Regions from separate parts of the Homo sapiens genome. Here regions 2 and 3 are each linked to region 1. The links are contacts of gene promoters, found by promoter capture Hi-C in blood cells and fetal thymus (Javierre and others, 2016). All regions are on one chromosome and are shown on one strand. Each heading gives the region's core, a stretch centred on a gene start or on the middle of the fragment in contact. The rest is flanking DNA. Distances are from core to core; before and after follow the strand shown.

Region 1 (3,707 bases), core at 817-3,316:
ACTCAAACTTTGCTGGTCGCCTTCCTTATCCCCACCCCATCCCACCTTCTCCAAAACAAAAAATCTGAGCCTTGCAGATCAGCCGAGCCTTCTGAGGCTCCTTTTGCTTCTTTACCTCTATTCCTTATTGAGATCAGCACAATTAATGCATGTCTGAACAACAAATGATCCTTTCTCTTTGGAAGGGTGAAAGTTTGGAAATATTTACATGTTAAATGTTCTGTTCTGGTCTCATTTGTATTCAGTACAAATAGTGTGTTTGCTTGGACATTAATTTTATTTGCAAATAGCTACAGCTGGGGGTCCCTTTGGGTAAGTCTTGCTAAGATACTGCATTGGTGGGTTTTTTGTTTATTTTGTTTTTGTTTTGTTTTTCAAGGGGATGGGGAAGGAATCAAAGTAGTCAAATCAGTTTGGTTGTTTTTACAAGCCCGAGAAATGGTCAAATTTTGGATTCAGACCAAGCACACCATAGTGTGCTAGAGGCAATTTAATGACTTCCTACCCTCTTGCCTTTTTCCCCCTCTTTGGGAACATTCTTGGATTTTCTACAGAAACAGCCAGAGGCTCTCAATTGACAATTGCCTCACTCAGCAGTTTCTTGTTAAGCACACTTGTCAGACACTGTTTCCAGGACTCTCTTAAGTGTCCTAAGAATATTGACTCATTCAAAAGCAGCCCAGCTGTAGTTGGGAGAGCACCAGCACTTGCTCTATAAAGATCTAGATTGTCTCTCTACCTCAAGAGGAATCCAAAATCCTGTTATGCTGGACTCTGAAATGATCCCCAGCCCTTTGGTGATCACACTGTTTATGAGCAGTCTGAATTCCATTCTTGGGTCTACCTAAACTAGCACCCTCGGGCTATGGGGCCCAGTGGGGAGACCACCTAGCATGCTGGCTGCCTGGAGCCCAGGGAACTGTCAAGATGGCTCTGGAAGACTTCTCGCCTTTTAAAAGCCCCGTATTTCTTTTACATATATTTTTGTCCTCATGAATTTTGCCAACCGCAATGGACTAAAATCTATTATAGCGTCCTGGAAAGGTGGGGAAAAGATGGGATAGTTGAGGAGAGTTTAATGAAGGGACTATTTAAAAAGGTGTGGATGGGGTTAAAGGAAACCTCTGGGCGTCATTACCCACTCCAGGCCTGAAGGGGCAAGGGTAGTTAGTGGTAACCAGAACCTGGAGAAAACTGCAGGAGAGGGCCACAGGATGGGAGTAATGGCTTTCAGATGAAGAACATAGCCACTGCTAACAGGGTGGCCCGCTGGGGATGCAGGGGAGGTCCTGAATCACATCCTGCCTTCTGATCTGCAGGTGCCTCCCACTTGCCAAAACCAATTGAAAGCCAGATTATAGTTGACGTAGCCCATAAAGGTCAGTCCTGAGTCACAGAGCAGAGTGGAGAGTGGGTCTGAAGGGACAGAGGAAAAACCAGCAAGCACCTCCTGTTTTTTCCCACAGCCAGCACCTTGGTTCAGCCCTTACCCTTTCTTGCCTGTCCCCTGGACCCATCAAATCCACTGCTTTTAATGACCAGTCTGTTTCCAAGAGGCTATATTCATTCCACTTGGGACTGGGGCATATGCACTTGGGTAGAAGAACCAGCTGTGCAGTGTCAAGACCCTTCCCTCAGAGACCTTATCAGTAAAATGGCGGGTGGACTCGGGGATGCCCGAAGACTTTTCCGGACCACGATTTTCCGATGCTGGACACATATTTAAACATGAAGGAATAGACTTGCGACTTTTAAGCGCAAACAATGGGTGGAAATGGACAGAAACTGCCTCCGTGCCCACTTGCAGCGGACTACGTAGCCCTGGCAGACAGGCAATTGCTTCAAACAAGCGCCCTCCAAGGGCGTAAGCTAGAGGGGCCCGGGCGGGCGCTTTCCCGTGGACCCTCCCACCTCGCGGGTAGAGGAAGTCCTTCAGTTCAGGCACAACCCTGAGCGTCCCCCGCAGTCTCCAACTCCGGCGCCAGTCAGGTTGTGGGGTGGGGGCGGCGGAGGGCGGAGAGCGCAGGCGCAGAGTCCGCGCGGCGGCGCCCCTCTCCCTCCGCAGTACTCCGGGCAGCGCCCGCCTCGATTTTCCCAGGCGAGGGCACGCCCGCGTCAGTCGCCTCCGGGGCACCTTCCTCGCCACGACACGCAGGTAACCGGGCCCCGGGAGCCGGTCGGCGGCGGCGGACTGGGACCTTGATCCTGCCTGCCCGGCCGCCCGACAAGGGAATGAGAGCGGACCCCGAACTCCACACACCCGCGTTTAGCCGCCACACCTAAGGGGCACAACAGTCTTTTTGGGTAAGGGCCGGGCTGGGGGCGACGCGCCCCGCCCGCTTTGCAGACTTCGGGGTGCTCTGCACGACGCCTGAAAGGCCGCGGGGCCCGCATTTCTCTGTGCTGCCCTCCTGGAGAACCGGGACACGGGGACGGGAGGGCCAGCATCGGCTACGGCCCGGTTTCCCGTTTCTTTCCGCTGTCGCGTGTCTGGGCCCTCCTGCAGCGTCCATGATGAAGGCCAGGGGCTGTTGCTTTCCTCTCGCCCAGTAGCCAACCCAAGCAAGGGGTGAGTCACTGTGGCGTCATATGGGATCAATTTCAAATACAAGTTTTAAAAAAGGCTGGATGATTTTAGAAATATGGCCAAGAATTTGTATTTTCCATTACTCTCTTGTCTCATGTCCATGACTCTTGAACGCCAGTCTGTGGGCGCTGAGATTTTCGTGGTACATCGACGGTTTGTAGACATCTTTTCCCAAGGGAAGACGAGGGCAAGGGTTAGTGGAGGAAGGGCCTCGTCACGGCCGAGAGTGGCGGAGAAGGCTCAGGGCAAGTCCGCACAGCCTCCAGCAGCCACGGGGAGGAAAAGGCGAATCTTTCCTCACAGTGCTCTGGGCGCTGTAGAATTTCTACGCCACGTGCACCCATTTGGCCTCATTTGAGAGGAGGAGAGGGAAGAAGGGTCGCGCGGGCCGGCAGGAAAGAGACTCGTGTTGCGGCGGATGAAGGCTCAGCGCGGACCTGCATCTCGGGCCAGGTTTTCTTTCACCCGGCTCCGCGAGGAGCGAGGCGGAAAGCTCGGGTCCGAGTGTTGATCGAGGACCTGGAGATAGTAACCCCCCACGTCCAGAGTGCTGGGGGTGGGTCCAGAGGGCTGGGGGTAGGTCCAGAGGGCTGGGGGTAGCTCCGGAGGAGCGATCTTCCTCCGCGGGAAAGGACTTGGCTCAGGCTTGCCTATGTCCGTGGTGCTGAAGTGCCTCGCGCGCCCTCGTCGACTGACTTCCTGGGCCGCGGCCTGCGTTGCCCTTCTACTCTGCACCTTTGCCAAAAATAGCCCATCTCCATGGCTGGTGGCCAGAGTGGAGCAGGCCCAACACTGAAACTCTTTTCAGACAAGTTGAGGCTGGTTTCCTGAACATAACCCGAAAGCAAATGTGGCTTGCCTTGGAGGTACAGATAAGCATATGCATAACAGATTTTATTACCTATGAGAAAGTACACACCATGAGCGTAAACAGGAATTCTCACATATACTTATGAAAGATACAGGTATGTGCATTTACGCACAAACCTAACACACATGCAAATACACTCATCCCTTTTGAAAACCATTACACACTACAAGCCACACATTTTTTAGAGCTTTTGTAATCCATCTTTATTTTTTGACACTTCTAGTAAATGTGAACTCTGCAGAGCCATTT
Region 2 (3,707 bases), core at 688-3,187, 480 kb before region 1:
TCCTGGTGCTGGTGCTTAAGATGTGGTCTGCTCAGCCAAAGAAGTCTGTGAAGGATACTCACCCACATGTGGAGTTGATGAATCAGCCCTCTTCACCTATTCAACAGATGTGACTGTTTTGTCTTTCTGGTTCCAAAGGATTTCTGGAGAGCTATGACTTTACCCTTTTAGAAGTATTGGTCCTCATACTCTGTGCACCTCTGATGTCAGCATGGGATTTCTACAATTCCAAGCAGGAGTTGCAGCCACTTGATAGGCAGTGCCTCAGTCTGGGGCCTCTGTGGAATCCAGCTGGCATATTCCAGCCAATGTGGCAGCCTCAATAGTTAGTTAAGTTTTGACCATGTCCCTACTGTCCTGGGTGGTGAAAATACTCCCTTTATGTGTCCTTGGGAGCAGAAAGATGCTCTTCAAAAAGTGGTGCCTGATGGAGATCTCCACAGAACAAGACACTCAGAAGGGCAGGGATAGAATCTTACCTGAGCTTGGTCTAGTATGAAAAGCCTAAGGCTGGGTGCGATGGCCCATGCCCTGTAATCCCAGCACTTTGGGAGGCCAAGGCAGGTGGATTGCTTGAGCTCAGTTCATGACCGGCCTGGGCAACATGGTGAAAGCCTGTCTCTACTAAAAATACAAAACTTAGCTGGGCGTGGTGGTGGGTGCCTGTAATTCCAGCTACTTGAGAGCCTGAGGCAGGAGAATCTCTTGAACCCCAGAGGCGGAGGTTGCTGTGAGCTGAGATCACACCATTGTACTCCAGCCTGGGTGACAGACCGAGACCCTGTCTTCACTTACCGCCCCCCCCCCCCCCCCGAAAAAAAAAAGGCAAGCCTGAGTGGCATCAAACCTTTGTTTCCCATGAATATACTAGTCCCTGCTTGATGGACTGTTACCTGGGAACAGGGGCAAACAGGGAGTTACAGTCAAGCCACAAATGGGAGATTTGCAAGCCTGACCCAAGCCTGAAAGTGCTCATCTAGTCTCATACTCTTGTAACCATCTAGATGAGCTGTTACAGACCATCCTTAAATGACCTTCCTTCCTTGGCTGTCTGGAAAGCTTGCTTGCTGATTTGTCTCCCACACCTTTGCCTTTTTTGCATAGGCATATTAGGCCATTTAAGGAACTCACCCCCTATTGCCAGACCCATGAAGTGTGTAGGGTATGACTTCTTAAAGAAAGAGTGAGGAGGTCTAATGCCAAGAGAAACTTTTTAAGACAGTCTGGCTCTGTTACCTAGATTGGAGTGCAGTAGTGGTGCAATCTTGGCTCACTGCAACAACCTCCACCTTGTGGGCTCAAGCCATCCTCCTACCTTAGCCTCACGAGTAGCTGGTGTGCGCCATCATACGCAGCTAATTTTTGTATTTTTTGTAGAGGAGTTTTACCATGCTACCCAGGCTGGTCTCGAACTCTTGAGCTCAAGTGATCCACTCACCTTGGCCTTCCAAAGTGCTGGGATTACAGGCGTGAGCCACCATGCCTGGCTGAAAACTTCATTTCTGTAGCTGCATTGACTCTATGTGGTCTTCAAAAGGGCACTGCCAGGGTGCAATTATGCATGTAAGCCCAGAGTCTCAAGCCGTGAGGACCCATGCTACAGGCCAGTGGATGGGTGTTCCCTGAATGCCTCATGCAAAACTCAGTTTGCAAGAGACTCCCTCTTAAACCACAGATGACTTGGCCTACACACACTCCAGAGAAATCTAAGGAATGAAAGAAAGTGAGCTATTCCTAAATTCTGCTTTCTTAAAAAAAATTAAAAAGCCAAAACAACAAAACCACCAACTCACTAATAAGGTTAACTTGCTGCCATTTAACAGATTATCAGAAATTGCAAACTCTCTCAAGAGCCACAGGACAGAAAATCATCTCTTTAAAGCCATACCTGGTAGAAACAATAGGATGACTACCACAAGCCTGATTTTGAATAGTTTATTAAAGGAAAGGTGAAGCATCAGTTTCAAATTGTACAAAAGGAAAAAAAACCTCATATTGCAAATGTACAATTTACAGAATTACTAGCAAAACCAATCAAGGAGACACCGAAAATACAAAAATTTGATTGACTTCAAACTGAACTGGAAACCCATTGGAGTAGATATTTAGCCTTTTTGTGTGGCATGGTAGTCTACAATTCTGTCAGCATCTGTTTTCCATACAAGACTGTCACGCAAAGGATCAATTTGTGCATGTGCCAGGGCACCTCATGGCTTGCTCCCTGGCCAAAACCACAGGCAGGCAGGGCTGGGGTGGACAGTCCAGTCATTCCTGCACCTTCACTTCCAGTGAAGCCCACAATTCTGGGAGAAAGTGAGGCCCCAGCTCCCCTAACTGGAGCCCAAGAATTGCTGAATTAGCAGAGAAGATATTTTTGGTGACCAGGTTTTTTTCAGAACTGTACAAATGTTGAGAAAAATGTTTTGTGTCTTTACTAAAAGGATGAATAAAATCATCCATCATCATCTTGCTTTCCCGCACAAAAGATGATCACTGGGTGTGCAGAATTTTAAAAAATGTTTTTCGTATTTGATAAAAAGGGAAAGCCTCATGATTCTGTTGCAGCTACTTTAAAAACCAGCCCAGAAACAGCTGTGGATGAATTGGTTTGGAAATTCTGAGGCTTACTTTAGAAATCAGAAAGGAAGAGAGAGACTAAGTGGGGTTTTTAAAACAATAGCAGCAAGTCATAAAAGTCTAGGCAGAATGTAACTCTAAACCATTGTAGACTGTCCTGAAGATTCATAATTTCTTTCCCCAAAAGAATTATTCTTAATATGCACATTTAACACTGAAATGTAGCTGTAATTCAAGGTAAGCTTAGGAACTTCACCCTCTAAGCACAGACTTCTATGCAGCACATACTTCTATAATCAGTAAACTTAATTCACAAAATTAGCGCATAAGGGTATTAAGTGCATGGGAAGTAAACACAGTTATGTTACACTTAAAATTACTTTTGAATGATTGATAAAGGATTTCTTCATGATTGATTATCTTAAGAAAATGGAAGTCTGTGTAACTTGAATTTGGCAGGGCATGAAATAAGTGGTAAAAACAGCAAACTGATAACTTGAGAATCATTTTCGTTTTACTGAGAATACTTTATTTGCTGGTAGAAGTTGCTAAAAATGCACAGAACAAATACCAATAGAAAATGCACTGTATTTGAATCTCCCTAGTCTATATAAAATGAACGGTGTACAGCATCTGTTGGAAAAATGGCTGCATGGACATTTCTTATTTTATGCCCACTTATAAATAAAAATAAACCTTTTATTCAAGAGTATATAAAATCTGGGAATTCATATCCATATCCACAGAGGGTGTGTGGTTTTTGGCAGAGATGTACTATGTCAGAATTTCATCTTAGCTTGTCAATGTTCTGCTCCTTCATTATTTGTGTTCCACAAAGGTCAACCAAATCCAGTGAACTCCAAAACACTCTTCGCAATTAGGATGAGCTGCTTACTCATAGGTTTAATAAAAATGGTTAGCTTTTAAAACATAAAAAGGCAAAATGTTAAAACGGTTTTTAAATTGTACAACAGGAAAATAAAGTTAAAAATATGTTTTTTTTTACTCAATGTTGAGTTTTCATAAAACAGGTGTATAACAGTGTTTATCTTGACAGCTGTTTTAAAAATTTAAAATTTCTTCCTCCCTCCAGAAAAACACACACATCTGTATTGGGATAAGTCCAATAG
Region 3 (3,707 bases), core at 395-2,894, 300 kb before region 1:
CTGCACATTGTGCACATGTACCCTAGAACTTAAAGTATAATTAAAAAAAAAATCACAACGTTGGGCTGGGCATGGTTGCTCAGGCCTGTAATCTCAGCGCTTTGGGAGGCCAAGGTGGGCGGACTGCCCGAGGTGAGGAGTTCGAGACTAGCCTGGCTAACATGATAAAACCCCGTCTCTCCCAAAAATACAAAAATTAGCTGGGTGTGGTAGTGCACGCCTGCAGTCCCAGCTACTCGGGAGGCTGAGGCAAGAGAATCACTTGAACTCAGGAGGGGGAGGTTGCAGGGAGCCAAGATTGTGCCACAGCACTCCAGCCTGGGTAACACAGTGAGACTCCATCTCAAAAACAACAACAACAAACAACATTAGACAATTACTAAGTGACTTATGTATGTTACATATTTAACAAAAATTATTTCATCTATATGACTCAGGAAACAAAAGATAAATTATTTCATTTAAGCTTCCCAATACTACCACGAGAAAGGATTATTAGTATCTATGCTATAAAGACGAAGAAAGGCACAGGAGTTACATAATTTGTCCAAAGTCACCAAGTTAATAAATTCAAGATATGTAATGCTTATAAAGTAATTTTTAAAATCCTTGTTTCTTTACAAAAACTGGCTGCCAAAAGAAAGCTAATTTTCAGAACCGATGATAGAACGTAAAAGACAATAATACTAAGAAAAAAGTTAGAAAATTTCAAGTTATTATAGACCTAAATATACAGATTCAAAAAAGTAATTACATTTTAAAGTTATACTTTATTTTATGGGTAAAACTACATGATATAGTGGTATTTGCAGATTTCACCAACTATTGGGCATTAATCCCACGAGAACATCAGAAGTCTGTTATATACAAACCCTAGAAAATTGAATAAAGATTTTATATCTGGAGGAGGGATGAAAAACACAACGGTGAAAAAGTAAAGTAAGACAAAGTAAAAGTACAAAGCAATGAAAAGGTCAAACTCTAGAAGAATTTTGAAAAATGAATATAAAAAAATAAAATGTAAATACAAAAAGGAAGAGCAATTATTTATACTACATGGTCTATTCTTTGATAATACCAGATTGCTCTAAAATTTTCACATCTTAACCATAGAAACCAGAAACAATCTGTGTGGTTAAAAATTATAAAATAATTATTGAATTTAATAAACAGAATATGGGTCCTGAGAGCCAAAAGATAAGTAAAATGAAAATGCAGGCTGGGTGTGGTTGTAATCCCAGCACTTTTAGAGGCCATGGTATGCAAACTGCTTGAATTCAGGAGTTCAAGGCCATGGGCAACATGGCGAAATCCCAACTCTACAAAAACTACAAAAAAATTAGCCGGATGTGGTGGCATGCACCTGTGGTCCCAGCTACTCGGGATGCTGAGGTGGAAGGATCGCTTGAGCCTGGGAAGCGGGGGTTGCAAGGAAACAAAACCATGCCACTGCACTGCAGCCTGGGCAACAGAGTGAGAATCAGAAAATAAACATACATTAAAAAAAAGCAAAAGAAAAGAAAATGCATGCTGTTCGTTTTCTTAACAGCGGTTCTTGAAAGTTTATCTACTTGTTTATTTATGATTTCCCCATCTGTCATGTCTTATTACTTTTTATTAAAATAGAACAAGCAAATCAATAAATTCTGAGTAAAACCATAAAGGAAGGGAAATATTGGCAAATACTATTATCCGTTTTTCTCATTAAAGAATAATAGAATAATAGCTGCAGCTTACTAAATGCCAAGCATTGTCCCAAGCACTCCTAATCTCTTTTCTTTCCCACTTTGCAAATAAAGAGAGTAAGACCAGTTATGTTAAGGACTTGTCCAAGGTTATCCAACTAGTAAAAGACAGAGACGAATATGAATTCAGACAGGCACGCCAGAACCCATTCTATCAACCACAGTATTACATGATTTCAGCAACTGAAGGCCAAATAAAAAGACTTCAATTTTCTGAGGCAAAATTATTTTCAGCCTCTGATCATAAATTAAAGCAATTTCATATGTCATTTCCTTCCTCAGAGGAAAAGTCTGGAGATGCTGATTCTATAAGAAAAGTTAATCAATAATGAATCATATGTGAATATAAAATCAACCATAAGGTATAAAGAAATGTTTATCCCTCAGGAGTCTGAGAGTGACTTATTGATAAGCACTGATGAAGACTGGCCTTGTGATGATCTTGACCACATTTTCTAATTTTTTCCCAAATTCATTTTAGGAGGGAAAAAAGAGAATAGAAACAATCTTCATGTCATTATTAGTACAAATTTTGTATTTTAACTCCCTTTTGTTCAAATTAGAACTTTAGAAGTCAGAGGCAGCCAGCATTAATATATTTATAACATCACAGAAAATTATGTAGGTGAGAAAATAACAAAATATTAAAACGTTAACCAACATTACTCAGCCTGAATGTTGCCCTCTAACAAAAATTTGAAGTCAACAAGTTGTAAAGTATTGGTATACATTTTAAAAGCAAATGTCTAAAAATAAACATAATCCTGAAAAGCAATTCTTTGAGAGTAAAATTTTAACTTCATAATACCAAACAAGAAAGTGGTAAAACAAAGAAAATCTTACCTATTTTTGAACTTAAAAGGAAAATATTCCCTCAAAAAATAAAAATGTCATCAAATTTGAAAATAAAAAAGTTCCCAGTCTCAGATTGTAAATCCACCAAAATAATTATGACACAATGTTTCTTACATAAATTAAATCCACAAACTGTACTACTATGTCCCACTGAGATAGCTATTTCAAATAAAAATAAGGGCACTTAGCTCTGAAGATCAATAGTTAATGAAAACTACAATGTAAAGCTTATTAAAATGGGCCAAATAACTAGGACAGTATGTTTGAAAATTCCAACGAAGGGATTAAAGAAAATATAAAATTTAATTGTTAACAGTCTCTTTCAATTTAATGGTAAAATATATTCTAAAAAGAGAGTTTACCTCCAATGGAAAAATAAGAATATACTTATGAGTGTGGAATAAACAGACATAAAGAACTATATAATGATAAAAAAAACTTTTAATAAAAATGTAAAAGTATACAATTAAATGCAATGCATAAACACTGACAACAGGGACACATATTGAATTCATAACAGGAAAATGGGATATTTGGAAAACAGATTAAAAATACTACTGATAAGACCACTCTGATGACTTATGAAGCTCTGGAACTCATCACATCTGTACCCTACAAAATAACTAACCTGATTGTCTCTCTTCTCAGCTAAGATTTAAGCAATGTCAAGGAGCATTTTATTCCAAAGCCGATAATCATATCTGGCCATAACTGCCTTGTAACTGTCCATGCACATAGTCTTTGAAGCAGAGGATTAAATGTTCCTGCCCATTTTATCTAGTCCCCAAGACTTGTCCTGCAAAGTGAATAAAAATGATTATCTTTTAATCTATTCCTCGTACATATACCATTAAAAATAAGAAGAGGGCAAAGATGAGAACAAAATGTCCTTGAAAAGAGGGATAATTGTTGTCCAGCCTGGAATTAAGTTCTCAGCAAGCCCTCTGTGCTTTGTTGAAGGGTAGGTGACTGCTATGTCTCACATTTTATACAAGTGAGCCTTGGAAGATATAACCATTAATTAGTGTAGACACATGGGAATTACAGTAATACGTTAAAGTAAATTGAGAGAACAACTGAAAAGTTTTATCCTTTGAAAATTCCGTA

What was found. The method cuts DNA at HindIII sites, captures the fragments that hold promoters and counts their contacts. A CHiCAGO score of 5 or more calls a contact.
Region 2: a fragment that was not itself captured here is called in contact with the fragment with the promoter of SLC35G2 in region 1 in 3 of 17 cell types (neutrophils, naive B cells and M1 macrophages); the score reaches 7.1 in neutrophils.
Region 3: a fragment that was not itself captured here is called in contact with the fragment with the promoter of SLC35G2 in region 1 in 1 of 17 cell types (monocytes); the score reaches 5.2 in monocytes.

The regions. Positions count from the first base shown.
Region 1 is chr3:136,817,060-136,820,766 of GRCh38, forward strand. SLC35G2 (solute carrier family 35 member G2) reads left to right here and starts at 2,067. Exons shown (of 2, transcript NM_025246.3): 1 at 2,067-2,569. RefSeq lists silencers at 2,092-2,151, 3,215-3,264. The HindIII fragment of the contact is 16,057 bases long and covers 1-3,707 here.
Region 2 is chr3:136,334,315-136,338,021 of GRCh38, forward strand. It overlaps STAG1 (STAG1 cohesin complex component), which reads right to left. Exons shown (of 34, transcript NM_005862.3): 34 at 1,922-3,707. Among named protein-coding and RNA genes, the nearest start is that of PCCB, 86 kb to the left of the region's middle. The HindIII fragment of the contact is 1,760 bases long and covers 1,058-2,817 here.
Region 3 is chr3:136,515,020-136,518,726 of GRCh38, forward strand. The region is part of intron 7 of STAG1 (STAG1 cohesin complex component); the gene reads right to left. Among named protein-coding and RNA genes, the nearest start is that of STAG1, 240 kb to the right of the region's middle. The HindIII fragment of the contact is 2,361 bases long and covers 465-2,825 here.